4 separate regions of the Homo sapiens genome follow, and all the other regions are linked to region 3. Evidence: promoter capture Hi-C in 16 types of primary human blood cells and fetal thymus (Javierre and others, 2016). All regions are on one chromosome and are shown on one strand. Each heading gives the region's core, a stretch centred on a gene start or on the middle of the fragment in contact. The rest is flanking DNA. Distances are from core to core; before and after follow the strand shown. Region 1 has its middle 9.0 kb from the start of GTSF1L. Region 2 overlaps TOX2 (TOX high mobility group box family member 2). Region 3 holds the start of TOX2 (TOX high mobility group box family member 2). Region 4 has its middle 87 kb from the start of JPH2.

The links. Contacts are between HindIII fragments. The CHiCAGO score rates a contact against its expected background, and 5 or more counts as called.
Region 1: a contact is called between a fragment that was not itself captured here and the fragment with the promoter of TOX2 in region 3, in 4 of 17 cell types (neutrophils, total CD8 T cells, endothelial precursors and 1 more). The highest score is 6.3, in neutrophils.
Region 2: a contact is called between a fragment that was not itself captured here and the fragment with the promoter of TOX2 in region 3, in 8 of 17 cell types (activated CD4 T cells, M0 macrophages, endothelial precursors and 5 more). The highest score is 8.0, in activated CD4 T cells.
Region 4: a fragment that was not itself captured here is called in contact with the fragment with the promoter of TOX2 in region 3 in 1 of 17 cell types (naive CD8 T cells); the score reaches 5.2 in naive CD8 T cells.

The regions. Positions count from the first base shown.
Region 1 is chr20:43,716,693-43,719,392 of GRCh38, forward strand. No RefSeq gene overlaps it. Among named protein-coding and RNA genes, the nearest start is that of GTSF1L, 9.0 kb to the right of the region's middle. The HindIII fragment of the contact is 161 bases long and covers 1,271-1,431 here.
Region 2 is chr20:44,056,238-44,058,937 of GRCh38, forward strand. All of the region lies in intron 5 of TOX2 (TOX high mobility group box family member 2), which reads left to right. Among named protein-coding and RNA genes, the nearest start is that of JPH2, 130 kb to the right of the region's middle. RefSeq lists a silencer at 1-39. The HindIII fragment of the contact is 1,736 bases long and covers 545-2,280 here.
Region 3 is chr20:43,913,581-43,916,280 of GRCh38, forward strand. It overlaps TOX2 (TOX high mobility group box family member 2), which reads left to right and starts at 1,272. Exons shown (of 9, transcript NM_001098797.2): 1 at 1,272-1,410. The coding sequence starts at 1,312. RefSeq lists silencers at 923-1,042, 1,143-1,242, 1,263-1,372, 1,423-1,512, 2,583-2,642 and enhancers at 1,009-1,726, 1,727-2,444. The HindIII fragment of the contact is 9,025 bases long and covers 1-2,700 here.
Region 4 is chr20:44,099,274-44,101,973 of GRCh38, forward strand. No RefSeq gene overlaps it. Among named protein-coding and RNA genes, the nearest start is that of JPH2, 87 kb to the right of the region's middle. The HindIII fragment of the contact is 3,805 bases long and covers 1-2,700 here.

The DNA.
Region 1 (2,700 bases), core at 101-2,600, 200 kb before region 3:
TCTGCAAAGCTCTGAGTATTAATAGCCATGGGGTTGGGCGGGGGTGGGCAGAGACTGGGGGCGGAGGAGGACGATGGGTTGGTGCAGTAGGGCCTTGCCTGGCCCTTGCCTTGGGTGGCTCACCTGCCCATTAACAAGCCCCTGCCTCAAGCTGAGCGTGGCCCCCAGGTCAGACCAGTAAGCAAGGAAGAGGGGTGAAGGCAGCTGGGCAGAACCCTCTAGCCCCATTGGCCAAGGCTGAGCAGGAGGCCAGGATGGGCCAGAGCCTCTGCCCTTGTGGCCCTAAATCCCTAGGGTTGTGGCTACAGAGCACAGTGCTTGGCAGGTGGTTGGGAAGAGTCACTGGGGATTGAAGAGGGGAAGATGCCAAGTCTGAGAATGTCTAAATGAGGAATTGATGTTTTCAGCAGCAGGCTTCATGGGACAGGCACATGAACATCCCTGTGGGCAGAGGTTGAGCAGACTTGGGGCAGGTCCTCACCTGGGGCAAGAGATGCGGCCAACTCTAGAGGGATGGGGACTGAGTTAATTAGGGTGCCAGAGTTCAGATGTGTCTGGCCTCAGACACACCCCTTTCTCCCTGCTGAGCTCCCGCCTACAGTCCCCCTACTCCTGTCCATTCACATGCAGGCATGCCGTGCTTGGTCCTGGCAGTGTCCCAGTTCTTGATCTAAAGCCGAGGAGGGGCGGGGGCTCTGTGCTTCCCACCCTGCACCCCGCACCCCGCAGCCCATGTGGCTGGGCTGCATGCACCTGCAGGTTCCATGGATGAACCACACCTAACTCACGCCCTGAGCTTTTGTGATTTGTCAGCATGGAGCCTATCCCCTCCCCAACTTCTTCCCCAAGGTCTGTCACTGGCCGCTCCCTACAGTCCTTGGTCACCCAAGGTGGATGACCTGTGCCCCACGGTGAGGATGGAGGCTGCATTACCTTGTCTCCTATAGCTCACACCAAGACTCGGTGGAACAACTTTGTCAAACTCAAATGCAGTGCGCTGCAGGCTAATGATGAAAATTCCTGGGCCCTCTGAGTCAGGTACCTGGGGTGGAGCCTGCAAAAAGGGATTTTTAACAAACCACCAGTGGGTTATTCACATGCAGGGCGTTGACTGGCTACACTCTGAGCTGACGCCTGTGAGGCTCCAGGGGCTTGTACCCCATGCCCTCTCTTGCCTGAGGTCTTGCTCATTCCCAGGGACTGCCCTCAGGCCCTTTCCTGTCCTGGAGGGAGGAGGCTGTAAAGAACAGAGTGGCTGCAGGTAACAGCAAGCTTAACATACCATCCTCACTGAGCTCTGTGTGCTGTGGGCTTGTTCTTTGGTTCATGCATTAAATAAATACTAGGCCGGGTATGGTGGCTCACGCCTGTAATCCCAACACTTTGGGAGGCCGAGGAGGCCAAATTGCTTGAGTCTAGGAGTTTGAGATAAGCTTGGGCAGCATCATGAAACCCTCTGTCTACTAAAAAAAAAATAGAAAAAATTAGCTGGGCATGGTGGCATGTGCCTTTAGTCCCAGCTCCTCGAGAGGCTGAGGTGGGAGAATCACCTGAGCCCAGGAGGTCGAGGCTGCAGTGAGCTGAGATCATTCCACTGCACTCCAGCCTGGGCAACCAGAGGGAGACACTGTCTCAAAAACAAAAACAAAACCACATTTATTGAGGGACCCTCCAACCCTACCCCCACATGTCTGGCATAGTTGTAGTGCTGAAGATATAGCAGTAAAGGATAGAAACCAGGCCAGGTGTGGTGGCTCATGCCTGTAATTTAGTACTTTAGGAGGCTGAGGTGGGAGGATCACTTGAGCCCAGGAGTTTGAGACCAGCCTGGGCAACATGGTGAAACCCCATCTCTACAAAAAATTTTAAAAACTTAGCATGATAGCATGATGGCTCATGCCTGTAGTCCCAGCTACTCAGGAAGCTGAGGTGGGAGGATCTCTTGAGCTGTGGTTGTGCCTCTCTACTCCGGCCTGAGTGACAAAGCAAGACCCTATCTCAAAAGACAAAAACCAAAAAACTACCTTATTCTCATGGAGCTTAAATTCTTTTTTTTTTTTTTTTTTTTGAGATGGAGTCTTGCTCTGTTGCCCAGGCTGGAGTGCAGTGGTGCGATCTTGGCTCATTGCATGCTTCGCTTCCTGGGTTCACACCATTCTCCTGCCTCAGCCTCCCGAGTAGCTGGGACTACAGGCACCCACCACCATGCCCGGCTAATTTTTTTTTTGCATTTTTAGTAGAGACAAGGTTTCACCGTGTTAGCCAGGATGGTCTCGATCTCCTGACCTTGTGATCCGCGTGCCTCAGCCTTCGAAAGTGCTGGAATTACAGGCGTGAGCCACTGCGCCCGGCCATGGAGCTTAAATTCTAAAAAGCAGACAGATATAAACCAACCAATTGATATAAAATGTGCCAGAGGGAACTTTGAAGTAAAGCAGGGGGTACCGTGAGGCCAGTCATCTGCTCAGAGAAAGTGGGGAGGAGTCAGATTTGACAGCTCCTGGCCATCATGGGGACAGGGAGAGCCCACATGGGAAGGCAGATTGGTTGCCACTCAGGAGGTGCTGGGGGCCCAGCTGCTGTTTGATCAGGAGTTTGGGGAACTTGGTCATGAGGATTGATCCAGGCCTGATGTTTCCCAGGCTAGTGTGGCAAGCAAGAAAGAGTTAGCCAGATAGCGCTGAGGGGCAGAGGGCCTGA
Region 2 (2,700 bases), core at 163-2,662, 140 kb after region 3:
GGGACCCTCAGGCAAAGGAATATAGCCGGTGGCAGCTGGAAGTAGAGCATGTTTGTAGGACAGGGGTAAGGACTGGGGGATATTGGCAGGGCACTGTGGCTTTTGCTATAGGGACGTCTGTCATTTTCACTTGTGTGTTTCGTTGGCAACCAATTCCCTTTCAAAAGACTTCAGGTTGTTTTTGTTTGGTGGGGGGATTTCCTTGCCGTTTTATACAGTCTGGGGAGACAGTGGTCTCAAGTCCTATGTCCCCGGGCACTCCCTCCACCGATGCTTTCTCTGACCTCATTCAGCGCAGCCCAGAGGCAAGCAAAGGTGGTTGAGAGTCCCAGCCCCTGTGTCGGTTTCATTTCTGCTTACCTGTCTGACGTTTTATTTCTAACCCAAGAACTTGGCATATATTTATTTCCATCCGATAATGGGCATTTCTCTCCTTTTACTTAATGCGTTCTTTTACTTAATGCGTTATAAATGGCTTGTTTCTCCCCATTTTCCTAGCAAATTGTTGAGTATAAAAAGTTAGGAATTTAATTTGTAACTGCCAAGCTTACTATTTATTTTATCATTTCTGATCATTTTTAATTCCTGAGTCTTCTAGGTTTAAAAAAAGTGTCTATAATTATACACATATTTATACATATGTATCTTTTACAAATGATAATTTTGTCTCCTTTGTTATTTGTTTTTTAAGAGACAGGGTGTCACTCTGTCACCCAGGCTAGAGGTCAGTGGCATGATCATAGCTCACTGCAGCCTTGAACTCCTGGGCTCAAGCAATTTTCCCAGCTCAGCTTCCCAAGTAGCTGGACTACAGGCGTGCCATGCATCACCATGCCCCACAAAATTTTTTCTTTTTTTTGGTATTTTGTAGAGACAGGGTCTTGCTGTGTTGCTCAGGCTGACAAACTCTTAGCCTCAAATGATCATCCCACCTTGGCCTCCCAAAGTGCTGGGATTAGAGGCATGAGCCACTATATCCAGCCATATCTCCTTATTTTGTCTCCTCACTTCTCAGATTTCTAATTCTGTTTTCTTTTCCCAGTTATGTTGACTAGGACTTCTAAAAAAGAGATGTTCAGCAATGGCGGGGATAGTGGTCTTCTTACTTTGCATTACCTCTCATGTTTCACTATTAAGCATAAGGCTGGATGTTAGCTTGTGTCAGTTTTTGAAATCACATTTAGAAATGTGACTTATATTCCTATTTTACTATTAATACACTAATAACCAAGAGAGGTAGTGAGAAAATAATAGGAAATAAAAAAACCTTGCCTATCCCCCAAAAGTTTCAAGCCTAGGTGATGGATAGGAAAGTTCTTTCAAATCATCAAAGAGCTAATAATTCCAAGACTTAGAAAAATAAGAAAACCTTCACAAGTCTTTATATACAATGTAACCTTGACACTAAAACATAATGAAGCTAACTGCATCATTTAATTTTGAATGTGTAATAAACAATACCAAAATTTAATGGCTTAAAACAATAATCATTTATTCAACTTATGATTCTGAGGGTCCATGAACTGTGCTGGGCTCAGCAGGATGGTTCTGCTGCTGCTCTTGGCTGGGCTCACCCATTTGCATCAGTGGTCAACTACAGTAAATTAGGCATCTCTGCTTCTGGGAGTTGGATGGCTGTCAGCTGGAGCAGTGGAGCCAAACTGGGCCATGTGTCTTTCATCATCCAGCAGACTAGCTCATGCTTATTCACATAGCAAGTCAGAGTTCCAAGAGCAGTTTTAGAGCAGAAAAATGGCAGGAAGGAGGCAGGACTAACTTGCAGCTCCCACTCGGACAGACAGAGCACGGAGACTCACATTGTGAACTTTTGCTCCAAGAACTACCACAGGAACATACTAGGAAAGCCAAAAGAATCCACAGACACTTTGAAGGATGTGGATTGCTGCTGCAGGCTCTCTGGGACAGCCAAGGAATTGTGAGTTGGCGTGCTTTCTCAGCTGGGAGGCCTGTAGCCTGGGGCAAGTTCTCAGCCCTGTTCACTAGCTGCCTGGAAATAAACTCGGTGCTGTTGGGGGTGCATGGTGGGAGTGAGACCAGCCTGTGGCTGCCAGCTTTCCCTCACTTCCCTGACAACCTGTGTGATGCAGCAGTCAGCCATAATCCCTCTGGGAACCACAACCCCCACAGCATCTGCAGCAAGCCCCACCTAACCCTGCCCCTACCTGATGGTCTTTCTCTACCTGCCCTGTTAGCCTAAGACAAAGGACATAATCTCTCTTGGGAACTCCATGGCCCCGCCCACCACCTGACACTAGGGCAAGCTTGTATCCTCCCTATACTACTGCAGCTGATGTGCTCTAGAAAGTGCTACCTCCTGGCTAGAGGCCAACCAACACAAAACCAGTGCACTTAAAAATACAACCAAGGACCCTCATGGAGTCCACTTCACTCCCCTGCTACTTCCACTGGACCAGGTGTTGATATCCATGGAGGAGAGACCTGAAGACAGATCACATCACAGGACTCTTTGCAGACACTCCCCAGTACTAGCCCAGAGCCCGGTAGCTCCGCTGGGTGGCTAGATCCAGAAGAGAAATAACAATCACTGCAGCAGGGCTCTCAGGAAACCACATCCCTAGGGGAAGGGGGAGAACCCCAAGGGACAGGAGAATCTGAATAGCAGCCTTGAGTCCCAGATCTTCCCTCTGACATAGTTTACCCAAATGGGAAGGAACCAGA
Region 3 (2,700 bases), core at 22-2,521:
TTCCCTCTGTTGTTCCCAAGCCTTCAGTGAATGCCTGTTTCCCACACCTATCTTTTGTTAATGCATCTTTCTTATGGTCCTAGTTCTAGGCCAGGACCAGCAAAGCCCAAGCAGCAGTTGAGAACTAAGTTCTAAGCTAGCTCCTGAGTGGGCAGGAAGCTCAAGTCCTTTTCTCCCAATGGCATCCTATATCCTGGTGCCACACAAGAATGCCATTCTGGCTGACTTCGCCTCCTGGCCTCTCCCAGTCAGACATACCTGGAGCAGTCAGTGAGCAGTGAGATTGCTAGGGGAGATTGCTAGTGTAGACAATTCTTGCATGAAAAGGGGGATGGGGGTGCAACAGTCTAGCAACCAGCAAGTGATATCAAGAACTAGAGGGTTTTTTTTTTTTTTTTGGTTGGGGAGGAACCCCATTTCACAGTCACCTTTCTGACCCACCATCAGAGCCATCCCATTCCAATCTCATTTTCTTCCTTTCCTCACTCCAAGAGACCGTGACTGTGGGCAGATCCTAGACCCCTCTTCAGAGCTTCGGGCTCTAGGCATTCCTGCGGCCCTCCCCTCCCTATCATTAAAAGGGGTGGGGTCCTGCTGCCTTCTCCAAGTGGTTTCAGCTCTGGATCCTTTGGGGGCAACGGAGCCCACCCGCCTGGAGCTCCATTACTGATGCTGCAAGTTTTTGACTCAGTTTCCCCATATGTGAGTGAGAGTTTAAGCGCGGCAATCTCCAGGGGGGGCTGTCAAGCTGACTCAGATCAGTGAGACGAGGAGGGGGCGGGCATGCTAAGAGCATCCTCCGGCGCTGGCCTGCGTCCCCCCAGGTAAGGCAGCACCCATCTCCAAAGTGGTCCTGTCACCACCTTCCTCTTCCCCCCGCACCCACGCCGCGGGGCGGGGACTAGCGCCGCCTCAAATATTTAGGGCAAGGGAGTGTCCCACTTCTGGGGAGGGGTGCCGTTCGGGCTTCTCTCCTCACCGTGGGTGGCGAAAGGCGGGACGGAAAAGCGCCGTCTGGACAGGCGCGCCCCCCTCAGGGATGCAGGGCCGGGCGGGGGACCCGGCGGCGGCCCAGCCCGGAGGAAGGACCTCCACGCCCCGGCCCGGGCCCCCGGGCCCCCGGCCCTAGGCAGCGCCCGAGGCCGGAACAATAGCGCGCGCGGGCGGGGCGGGGGCGGGGGCGGGGCGCTCCTCTGGGCACCGCCCCCGGCCCGCCCCCCGCGCTCGCAGTCCCGCTCGCACACTGGCTCCCACCCGCCGCCCGCCCAGGCACTGCCCGCGGGAGCCGCCGCCGCCGCCGCCGCGCCCGCCATGGACGTCCGCCTGTACCCCTCGGCGCCCGCGGTGGGCGCGCGGCCCGGGGCCGAGCCGGCCGGCCTGGCGCACCTGGACTATTACCACGGCGGCAAGGTAGGCGGGGGCGGGCGGGGGTCCCCGGCGGGCGGGGCCGGAGTCACCTGGCAGCTCGGGACTCAGGCGCTCCCGGGGTCACACGGGGCCGCGCACATCAGCCCCGCCGACGGGCACGGGCGGCTCACATCGATCCCCTCGCGGCCACGCTCACGCCCTGAGTTGTTGGGATCGCGGGCAGAAGTCATCCCGACAGCCACCCGTGCGACGACACAGTGGCCCCTCACTCGCGTCCCCCTGACAGCCTCGCAGTCATTCACAAGCCGTCACAGTGACCCACAGCCACACGCAGGCGGCCAGGCACTGCTTACACGGTCCCGCCGTCCCACGCAAGTCACCCTGACAGTCACTTATACACAACGACACGCAACCACTCACCCGCAAACAGCCTCACCGCCACAGACGAGTCACCCACAGACGCTCCGATGCCCCACACACCGTGACATGCCCCCACCCGCTGTCACACCCAGGCACAACGGGGGACAGTCACACAAAGAAGTCGCCCGACAGTCACACTCTCGCAGCCACAACGCCTCACCCAGGCGCACGCTGTCACACACAGCCACCCCCCTGGACGGTGAGCCTCAGACACAGATCGTCCTGACGGCCACACAGTCACACGCGGTCACACCCAGGGACGGCCACACCTCGGTCATCCACACTCGCGCGTCGAGGTTTAACTTCTCAGCGCCGCAGCACACTAATTGGGCAGTTTACTAATTGGCCGTCACTGCCTGGCGGGGCCTCGGATTCCGAGTAGGCTGCGGCCAATCGAGGCCTGTGTCCTCCCGGGAGCGGTGAGCCGGCGTCCCTCCAGGCTGGGGCTGTAGTGCCGGACACCCTCCCTCCTCCATGTTTCCAGGATCTATCCCCCCACCCCAGCCAGGTCCCAGCTGCGCTGCGCCGGGCGCATTCCCAGTGATGGAGGCTTGCGTGCCTGGAACCCCGAACCCGAGGCGTCAGGTCCCACTGCCGGGTCTGGCCCAGCCTGGATGGGTTGGGTGCCTCTAAGCAGTCCGCGTCCCCTTCGGTCGCCGGAGAGGGAACTTTCAAACTTAGTTAGGAAGCCAGACTGTCCGCGCGTCCGCCAGTCGGTGCGTCGGTCCCGGGCCGGCTGGAGCCAAGCGCGGGTTTTCGTCACTCGGAGCCCGGATTGAACAGCGCGCGTGGGTTTCCCGCAGCCCTGGCGCAGACGCGTGGGCTCCGTGGCGATGCGGGGTGAGTGCGCGTCCAGTGGCTGGATCGGCGCCCCCCAGGGTCTCTCCCCAACCTCGCAGGCTTTTCGTCAGG
Region 4 (2,700 bases), core at 29-2,528, 190 kb after region 3:
TTTAAAACAGTAAAAACCAGCTGGGCATGGTGGCTCATGCCTTTAACCCCAGTACTTTGGGAGGCCAAGGTGGGCGGATCACTTGAGGCCAGGAGTTCGAGACCAGCCTGGCCAACATGGTGAAACCCTGTCTTTACTAAAAATACAAAAATTATCTGGGCATGATGACTCATGCCTGTGATCCCAGCTACTCAGGAGGCTGGGGCAGGAGAAGTGCTTGAACCCGGGAGCTGGAGGTTGCAGTGAGCCAAGATCCCACCACTGCACTCCAGCCTGGGTGACAGAGTGATACTCTGTTTCAAAAATACATACATACATACATACATACATACATACATACATACATACATATGTAAAAACTGTTCTTAGCTCAAAGACCAAAAAAAAAAACAAATCAGACATCGGGCCAGATTTTGCCCACCAGCCATGTTTTGCCAGCCTCTGATATTCACAAAGGGCTGTCTTCTGTCTGCTGAGTGTGGCGTTATTTGGCTCAATACCATGGACCTGAAGCAGGCAGGACTCAAATCTCTGCAGCTGGGAGAGTTTTTAAATGCAGCTACAAAGTTTTCCTGAATATTAGATATATTTGCAAGTTGCCAGCTTGTTAGATAAGCACTCACAGGGCGTTCTGCTCGCTGCTAGTTTGCCCTGATCAACACTTTTATGTCGTGACCTATAAGAAAGCTCAGAGAACCTAGTGGCCAGGAATAGCAAAGGAAAATAGTTACGAGAGGAGGTAATTACCCTCTCTACCACCAAGAGATAGAGGATGGAGGGTGGAGGTTAAAAGGGTGGGCCCTGGAGTCACGGTAAATTACTCGGGGTAAATCATGTAAATTTTCTGGCCACCAGTTTCCTCATCTGCATAATAGGGATGATGATAGTGTCTGTCTAATTATATCGTTGATAGGATTACATGTTATCATGCATTTAAAAGACTTAGTGTCTGCTTGTTAGTTTTTAAGTGGTTGGTTTTCACTACCTCCACTATTAACTACCCTGGCATAAAAAAGCAAAAGGAAAAAGAAAGGCAATTTGTACAATTAACTCCTAAAGAAGGTGAAAGAGTTAGTGGAAGAGATGAGAAAACTTTAATAACAAATAAATAAGAACTTTCAAGAAAATGCAATTTGGGTTTGATGACTTTCTGGAAGTAAAATGTTTGAAAAATTAAAAGAAATATCCAATAGTTGGACTGGAATAAATGGGAATCATGGTATAGTAAGTGATAGGACATCTCCTCATAGGGATGAAAGAACAGGTAGACCAGGGGAAGGGAGGACATTTAGGAGGCAGGTGCAAAACACCCCACGAGAATCCAGGCTGCAGGGAAATACAGAATTAGAAGAGTTGGACAATTAATCCTATTTGAGAGGATAAGTTCAATGAGCTGAAGACTGATTTTTTTTTTTTTTTTTTTGAGACAGGGTCTTGCTCTGTTACCCAGGCTGGAGTGCAGTGGTGCAATCTCGGTTCACTGCAACCTCTGCCTCCAGGTTCAAGCACTTCTGCCTCAGATTTCCAAGTAGCTGGGTTTACAGGTGCACCACCTGTAATATGCCACCGCACCTGGCTAATTTTCACATTTTTAGTAGAGATAGGGTTTCACAATGTTGGTCAGGCTGGTCTCGAACTCCTGACCTCAAGTGATCTGCCCACCTCCCAAAGTGCTGGGATTAGAGGCACGAGCCACTGCACCTGGCCGGAAGTCTCAAATTTTGACACCGAAAGAGCACGTTGTTTCCAGGACTGGATTAATTCCTAAAGAACTCACCTTAGACACATGCTCTGTTTAAATTCTGAAGACTGAATCTTAGGAGAAAATCTGACAAGACTTCAGAGGGAAAGAAAAGAAGAGTTTACTCACAAAACTAAAAGAATAAGTAATGGGGAAAGGACTCCCTATTGAATAAATGGTGCTGGAATAACTGACTAATCGTATGCAAAAGATTGAAACTGGACCCCTTTCTTACACTGTATACAAAAATCAACTCAAGATGGATTAAAGACTTAAATGTAAAACCTAAAACTATAAAAACCCAGGAAGATAACCTGGGAAATATCATTCTGTACATAGCTTCTCGCAAAGATTTCATGTTGAAGACTCCAAAAACAATTGCAACAAAAACAGAAATTGACAAATGGGACCTAATCAAACTAAAGAGCTCTGTACAGCAAAAAGATATTGTCAACAGAGTAAATGGAAAACCTACAGAATGGGAGAAAATATCTGCAAACTATACCTCCAACAAAAGTCTAATATCCAGAAACTATACGGAACTTAAACAAATTAACAAGCAAAAAACAACCCCGTTAAAAAGTGGGCAAAAGATATGAACATTTTTCAAAAGAAGACATACACATGGCCAGCAAGCATATGAAAAAATGCTCACCATTACTAATCACTAGAGAAATGTAAATCAAAACCACAATGAGATACCATTTCACACCAATCAGAATGGTTATTATTAAAAAGTCAAAAAATAACAGATGCTGGAGAGGTTGCAGAGAAAAGAGAATACTTATACACTGCTGGTGGGAATGTAAATTAGTTCAGCCATTGTGGAAAGCAGTTTGGCGACTTGTCAAAGAACTTAAAACAGAAGTACTATTCAACCCAGCAATCCTATTATTGGATACATACCCAAAGGCATATATATAAATCATTCTACCATAAAGACACATGCACATATATGT